Regions from separate parts of the Homo sapiens genome. Here region 2 is linked to region 1. The links are contacts of gene promoters, found by promoter capture Hi-C in human tissues and cell types (Jung and others, 2019). All regions are on one chromosome and are shown on one strand. Each heading gives the region's core, a stretch centred on a gene start or on the middle of the fragment in contact. The rest is flanking DNA. Distances are from core to core; before and after follow the strand shown.

The links. Contacts are between HindIII fragments. The study calls those that stand out against the background at their distance.
Region 2: a contact is called between a fragment that was not itself captured here and the fragment with the promoter of ODF4 in region 1, in 4 of the 25 tissues and cell types used here (H1 embryonic stem cells, IMR-90 fibroblasts, mesendoderm cells and 1 more).

The regions. Positions count from the first base shown.
Region 1 is chr17:8,338,014-8,342,083 of GRCh38, forward strand. ODF4 (outer dense fiber of sperm tails 4) reads left to right here and starts at 1,827. Exons shown (of 3, transcript NM_153007.5): 1 at 1,827-2,492. The coding sequence starts at 2,039. It overlaps LOC124903916 (a long non-coding RNA gene), which reads left to right and starts at 44. Exons shown (of 2, transcript XR_007065607.1): 1 at 44-278; 2 at 410-745. The HindIII fragment of the contact is 12,554 bases long and covers 1-4,070 here.
Region 2 is chr17:8,232,329-8,236,249 of GRCh38, forward strand. CTC1 (CST telomere replication complex component 1) reads right to left here. Exons shown (of 23, transcript NM_025099.6): 6 at 3,730-3,921; 7 at 3,503-3,631; 8 at 2,725-2,957; 9 at 2,421-2,598; 10 at 2,127-2,327; 11 at 578-704; 12 at 33-147. Among named protein-coding and RNA genes, the nearest start is that of TRI-AAT4-1, 7.2 kb to the left of the region's middle. The HindIII fragment of the contact is 3,118 bases long and covers 1,113-3,921 here.

The DNA.
Region 1 (4,070 bases), core at 577-3,076:
TGGGGATAAGCTCCTGCTCCCTCCCCCTGCTCCATCAGTGAGCATTTGGGGTTGGGGTTAGGGCAGAGGAACTAGGAAGAGAAAAGGGGACTGTCCTAGTCCATTTTGTGTTGCTATAACAGAATACCTGAGGGTGAATAATTTATAAAGAAAAAAGGGCTATTTGGCTCACAATTCTGATGGCCAGAAAGCTCAAGATTGGGCATCTGTTGAGGACGTCAGGCTGCTTTCACTTATGGTGGAGGCAAGGGGGAGCTGGCTTGTGCAGAGATCACAAGGTAAGGGAGGAGCTGAAACTGTGCCCCAAACAGTTAAATAAACCAGTGATTAACAGACATTTTCGAGTTTACAGGATGGCAGCTAAGAAACAGCTTGCTGAAATGCTGAAAAATCCCTTTGCTTATAACAGGACTGGCTGAAATCAGTGGGAACCCGTATGGCTGACAGCAATCCGCACAGAACGAGCTTGCTGATGTCACAGCCTGAATTTCCACCTGCTGTTTCATACTAACGCCACCAAATTTGCACATGCAACCCACGAAGAACCTTGGAGATAACCAGACATGATTAAGGACTTTCTAGACTTCTCCTTTCTTTCCACCAATCACCCGCTAATCCCAGAATCCTCCCCCTAAACCTTTTCTAATAAAAGTACTGCCTTAAGACCAGCAAAGAGAGACAGATTTGAGCTGGATTCCCGTATCCTCGTGGGTCAGCTCACAATAAAGCTTTCCTTTTCTCAAAACCTAGTGCCCTAGTATTGGAGTATTGGCTTCTATGCACATCTGGCAGCGAGCACTTTTGCTTGGTAACAGCGCCAGGTTCTTTTTAACAACCAGCTATTGCGGGGAGCTAATGGAGTGAGGTCTCAGGGAAGGCGTTAATCCAATCACAAGGCATCTGCCCCCATGACCCAAACACCACCCACTAGGCCCTCTCACCTCCCATCACCACCACACTGGGGAGCAAATTTCAGCATGAGGTTTGGTGAAGACAAATTAACCATATGCAGACCACAGGAGGGCCTCTCACATACCATTGCTCATATGTAAAGGGAGGCAGAAGCTGGAGGGAGGTGTCAGATCCACAGTTCTGAGCTGTGGCCTGAGAAACAGGATTTCCGGAAAGAGTTAGAGCTGGAGCCACAGGCCAGGCAAGGTGGCTCACACCTGTAATCCCAGTGCTTTGGGAGGCCAAGTGGGGAGGATCTCATGAGGCCAGGAGTTTTTTTTTTTTTTTTTTGAGGCTGAGTTTCACTCTTGTTGCCCAGGCTGGAGTGCAATGGTGCGATCTCGGCTCACCGCAACCTCCGCCTCCCAGGTTCAAGCAATTCTCCTGCCTCAGCCTCCTGAGTAGCTGGGACTACAGGCATGTGCTACCACGCCCAGCTAATTTTGTATTTTTAGTAGAGATGGGGTTTCTCCATGTTGGTCAAGATGGTCTCGAACTCCCGACCTCAGGTGATCCACCCACCTCGGCCTCCCAAAGTGCAGTGATTACAGGCGTGAGCCACCGTGCCTGGCAGAGGCCAGGAGTTTGAGACCAGGCTGGGTAACATATCAAGACCCCATCTCTACAAACAATTGAAAAATTAGCCAGGCATGCTGGCACAATCCTGTAATCCCAGCTACTCAGGAGGCTGAGGTGGGAGGATCACTTGAACCCAGGAGTTCAAGGTTGCAGTGAGCCAAGGTTGTGCCACTGCATCCCAGCCTGGGCAATAGAGGGAGACCCTGTCTCTCTCTCTAAAAAAAAAAAAAAAAAAAAAAAAAATTGCTGAAGACTTGGCTTCCCTCCCCCATCTCACTGTGCCCCAGGAAAATTCCGTGGCAGTTAGGGGACCTGGCCTGCTGAATGGGTTGGGGCCTTCTCTTGGATCAAGAGTCTCTTATTTGATCGAGGTCTGTTATTAGACTTCCTCATTCTTTCTCAGACCTCAGGCTGCATGGTGGCAGCTGATGAAAATATCCAAAAGATGAGAAGAGACAATTGAGTCTGGTGAGGGAAAGGGGAGACAGAGGGTGAAGTGGTGCTCAAGATGGATGCAGAGTACTCTGGGAATGAGTTCCCCAGGTCAGAAGGAGAAAGAGACCAACATCAGAGACCTGGAAAGGAAAGGAAGAGTGGGGAGGCAGGATGGGGCACAGGTGAGCTGGGACAAGATGGGAGACTGCTGTCCTCCACCCTCTCCCTCAGTAGTAACAGGTCCTTGGGCCAGCGCCAGAACTCTCCGCTGCCCTTTCAATGGAGAATCACACACAGCTTCCGCTGGATGGCCCAGGTGTTGGCCTCTGAGCTCAGCCTGGTTGCCTTTATCCTACTATTGGTCGTGGCCTTCTCCAAGAAATGGCTGGACCTCTCTAGGAGCCTCTTCTACCAGCGCTGGCCCGTGGATGTCAGCAACAGAATCCACACATCAGCCCACGTTATGTCCATGGGGCTCCTGCACTTTTACAAATCCAGGAGCTGTTCTGACTTAGAGAATGGGAAAGGTGAGCCCCTCCACCCCCCATCCCAGCCCAGGCCGCCAGCCTGTCTTGGCCTCTGTATCTGCACCCTGGATGTATTCTTGTTCCCTCTTTCTGGTCATCTTTACTTTTTGGCCTGCAAGATGGTTCCACTGGCACTGAGACCTCCGATGATCGTTTCTCATCCTGTAGCCTGGCTAAATAGATTTGATTGGTGCAATGGAAAATGTCACTGCTTTTGATAAAACCCAGAGCCAAATCTGTGCTTCTAAGAATGCTGTGAGAGAGTTGGGCATGGTGCTGCACACCTGTAGTCTCAGCTATCCAGGAGGCTGAGGTGGGAGGATTGCTTGGGCCCAAGAATTTGAGTCCAGCCTGGGCAATTTAGTGAGACTCCTGTCTCAAAAAAAAAAAAAAAAAAATCAGGCTGGGCACTGCGTCTCACACCTGTAATCCCAGCACTTTGGGAGGCCAAAGCAGGCAGATCACCTAAGGTTGGGAGATCGAGACCATCCTGGCTAACATAGTGAAACCCCGTCTCTACTAAAAATACAAAAAATTAGCCAGGCGTGGTGGCACATGCCCGTAATCCCAGCTACTCTGGAGACTGAGGCAGGAGAATTGCTTGAACCCGGGAGGTGGAGGTTGCGGTGAGCCGAGACCGCACCATTGCACTCCAGCCTGGGCAACAAGAGTAAAACTCTGTCTCAAAAAAAAAAAAAAGTTACGAGGGGCATGGACTCAGCACAAGAGAATCATTCATTAATCGCCTAATTTACCAGGGACAAGAGCCCCAGTGAGATGGGGGTTTCCTTAGTCTTGTGTACCCAGAGCTTTGAGAGGACTCCTTGCAATGTCCCCTCTCAGGCCCTGATCCCACACATTCTCCTTTCCTTCTGCCTCAGGCCTTGCTTTTCTGGATCATTTTCCTTTTTCCACATCTGGCTTCTGTGTTCCTTCTTTCCCTGAATTCTTGCAGCTGCTTCATTCCTCATCCTTGTTTTTTTCTGTTTGTTTCGCTGATTTTTTTAGAGACAAGGTCTCACTCTGTCACCCAGGCTGGAGTACAGTGGTGCAATCATAGCTCACTGCAGCCTCGAACTTCCAGGCTCAAGGGATCCTCCTGCTTTAACTTCCGGAGAAGCTCAGACTACAGGCCGTGGCCACCACACCTGGTTCTTATTGTTGTTAGTCTCTGGTTATGCTGTTCCCTCACCCCTCAGGAATTTGGAGTTCTTTCCCTGCTCCTGGGGAAAACCAGAGCTTTTGACCCTTATTTCCATTTTTTCACTCTCCTTAGCATGAAAAAAATCACACAGCTATTATTTTCTGAAAGTATTATGTCCTTATCATATGAATATGAAAATATTCATATAATGAATTATGAAAGCATTATGAAAATATTATGTCCTTATTATAATAAATTTGGGGAAACAAAAGCTATCCTTTATTGTACACTTACTCCATTTGTTCAATTTAGTCCTTAGTCAATCCTAAGGGATAGGGATAATTATCCCTATTTTAGAGATGAGAAAATTGGGACTCAGAGAGATTAAGTACCTTGCTCAGGGTCATAAAGCTATTTAGATTGAACCAAATGAC
Region 2 (3,921 bases), core at 1,422-3,921, 100 kb before region 1:
ACTCAAGACAACCATGACCCCAAGGAGCCAACCTGGCCTGCTGCTTCTGGATGAAGCCTGGCATGCTCAGCTCCTTCCAGGAAGGGAAGCTGCTTCTCACGTCCCTCTCTACGATCAACTGAAACCTCTCTGCCCGCACCAGGCAGCCTAGAGGAAGAAAGTTTTCTGTTTTGACAAGAAAGGAGACCTGTGGGGTGGGTTGCAAGGCAAACCATCCTACCGGCCTCACTACCCATCCCAGGCCAGAGCTGCTGCCCTCACATGACATGAAAGCCCACACCTGACCCCCACCTTAGAGGGGTGACACCTTCTCTCCAAACTAAGAATGTAGGAGACACAGTTGTAATCCTGGAGTGCATGTTAGGAGCTACGGTGGAGAAATGCATGCTGGAAATTCTGGCTAGGGGTCCTCTTGCTCCTGTTCTCTGCCTGCCATACAAGTCTCCCAGAAGTTGTTGATTGACATGTGTCACTTCTGCATCTCTAGTAAATCCCAGCAGGCTTTTCCTCCCAGGCTCCCCTGGCTATGAGAACCACCATCCCACTACCATCTTCTTTCCACATCTGAACTCCAAACCTATCAGCCGTGGGTCACTGAGGGGTTGAGAGTGCTTGGCCAGGAGCAGGCAGGGCAGGGAACCACTTTGGTCCCGAAGTTGCAGACAACCTTTATGAGATGAAGCCACCAGAACCCCAAGTAAAACCTGCAAGAAGATGAAGGTTGAGTTATCAAATGTTTATTCAGCAAATACTGAGCATCTACTATTTGCCAGATGCTGTATTACATGGTAAAGCTACAAAATGAACAAAAAAGACACGTCTCTGGCTTCAAAAAACTTATATTCAAGTGGGGAAGACAGACATAAAAAAACACACACGCATTCACACATTTAGTAGGAGAAGAGAAAGCGCACAAATAGAGGTTACAGGTAAGAGGCCATGCGGGATCTCACAGGACACAATGAGACGTTTGATTTTACTTTATATGCACTGGGAGGCACGCAAAGAATTTAAGCTGGGGCGCAGTGGCTCACGCCTGTAATCCTAGCACTTTGGGAGGCCAAGGCAGAAGGATCACTTGAGCTCAGGAGGTGGAGATCAGCCTGGCAACATAGTGAGACCCCATCTCTAAAAATTAAAAAGTGTAAAAATTAACCCAGGCCAGGTGCAGTGGCTCATGCCTATAATCCCAGCACTTTGGGAGGCTGAGGCAGGCAGATCACTCAAGTCCAGGAATTCGAGACCAGCCTGGGAAACATGGCAAAATCCCATCTCTACAAAAACACAAAAATTAGCTGGATGTGGTGATGGATGCCTACAGTCCCAGCTACTCGGGAGGCTGAGGTGGGAGGACTGCTTGAGCCCAGGAGGCAAGGTTGCAGTGAGCCAAGATAGTGCCTCTGCACTCTAGCCTGGGTGACAGAGCAAGATTCTGTCCCAAAAAAATAAAAAAATAAAATTAGCCAGGGACGGTGGTGAACGCCCGTAGTCTCAGCTACTTGGGAGGCTGAGGTGGGAAGATCACTGGAACCTGGGAGGTCGAGACTGCAATGAGCCATGATCGCGCCAATGCACTCTAGCCTGGGCTACAGAGCAAGATCCTGTCTCGAAAAAAAGGATTTAAACAAGAGAGTTCTGTAATACAAGTTTCACTTTTTTTTAAACTTCCTTTTTTTTCCTGAGTCTTGCTCTGTTGCCCCGGCTGGAGTGCAGTGGTGTGATCTTGGCTCACTATACTCTTGATCTCTCAGGCTCAAGCAATCCTACCTCAGCCTCCTGAGTAGCTGGGACCATAGGCACATGCCACCGCACCTAATTAAGACAACTTTTTTGTAGCAACAAGGTCTCTCTACCCAGGCTGGTCTCAAACTCTTGGGCTCCAGTGATCCTCATGCCTTAGCCTCCCAAAGTGTTGGGATTACAGGCATGAGCCACTGTGCCTGGCATATCCCCATTTCTAGTTGCTGCAGAGAGAATGAATTGGAGGGCCAACAACAGATGAAGTGGTCTGCTTAGAAGGCTAGTGTAGTCAAAATGACGAAGAAAGATAGTAACCGAGACTAGAGTCGTGGCAATAAGGATGACAAAAAGGGAAATCACCTGAGCCCTGCTAGGGTCCCCCTTACCTGGGCTGGGCAGAAGGCAGAGGGCAGCAGACAGAGCCAGGACCAAGCCAGGCGGCGATTGAGTTGGCAGCTGGGCAGGTAGGAGGCCTCCGGGAGGGGCAGAAGGGCCTTAGGGTCAAAGGAGGCCCAGGCCTTACGCTGTCCTTCTTCTTTCAGGGTGGCCAGAGTGGGGAAGGAGGAGGGAGTCTGCAGCCGAGTGTACTGTCAAGGAGGGAAGAGAAATCGGGTGTGTGTCCCATGGGCCCCAGGTGTCCTCCAGTGTTCTGCCACCATCCTTCCCCCACATCCTCATACTTTCTGGAGGGGACAGTGATGTGGCTCTTCAAGGATCTCATTGTGTGCATTCCGAACAGGGCTGCCTGGCGGAGCTAGAAGATCCAGGGTAGGAGCCAGGAGTTGCAGTCCCAGGCTGGGGCTCCCAGGAGAGGAATGTTGCAGGAACTGGTGGTGTCTCAGCACATGGGGACACAGCCTTGGCCAGGAAAAGCAGCACAGTCACTTCCCCTGAAGAGCCTGCCTCTTCAAGAATCCTGCTCTCCTTGCCAAGGAAGTGTGCTACTCCCACTGCCTCCCCGCCCTGGGCCCTCAGCCTCCTCACTTGCAGGCCAGCTCCTCCAGGGCCTTGGTAGCCCACAGGTAGAGGGGAAGTCCTAACTGACGTTCCCACACCAGCTGCTCGTACAGGGAGGCCCCGTAGGCTTGACGGGATGAGTGAGCCCCAGGCTTCTGACGAGAGAAGCTTTGAAGCAGAACGGCGCCACGGAGGCAGGGGGCGAGCACTGGCCTTCTTGTCCCCCCTCCCACTGACTGGAGCAGGTGAACATCCTGGAGCTGGGGGAAAGCAGAGAAAATGAAAAAGCAGAGATGAAGACCCCAACTCAATGAACCCAGGCAGAGTTAACCGCACTTTGCCACTGCCTGGGTTCCAGGAAGACGGAAAGCAATTTCTCCCACGTGGGCTGGCCTCACTTTCCATTACAACCCACTCCCGCTGCGGTCAGCCTTCATCTCCCATGAGCTCCACTCAGTCTTGCTGTGGGCTGGGTGGCTCCTGGATGAACAGACATGGCTGAGGCTTCTCACCGGGTCGCCTGAGATCACCCCAGCCCCAGATCTGTGCTTCAGCTATCTCCTCCTCCAGCTGAAAGGCCCTTCTGTGAAGGAGATGCTCTGGCCACAACTCCTCCTCACAGTGCCCAAGACTCTACTCCTTTTTATTTAAGCTTCTGTCCAAGTTATCCTTAGCAAAAGTGCCCCCTAACACACACTTTTAATTTCTATATTTCTATATAACCACCCTGCTGCAGAAAAGGAGCCTATGAAGGTAAGAGAAGCTGCAGAGGTCTCTTTTTGTTATCAGCCCTGATCTCACATACCTGCAGACACACTCCAGGTCGCATCACCCGCCTAAGGCCACGGAACTGCTGGTAGGCAAGGCAGAGCCCCAGCTGCCCATCCAGCTCATAGAGGCCAGCGGGCTCATTCAACACGCCAGTGACTGCTCCCTGCAAACAGGCCGAGGTCCAGTTGACCACTATTTTCTTCCTCTTTGAAAACCCACATTTCTGGCCCCTCAAGCTCTAGGATCTCTCCCTGTGCTCACCGAATAGGATAGGAGTCTAGAATACCGGACAAGACTTTCTGGATCCTTCTTGTCCTCCGAGTTGCTGGGCATGGGGAGTGGCTTGGGGTCAGCCTCTAAGAGGGGTCCTTCCAGCTCCAGTTCCAGCTCCTGCACACATTCTGGTTTCAGCAGCAACAGACGGGAGGACTGACTGGTCATCCAAACATGCTG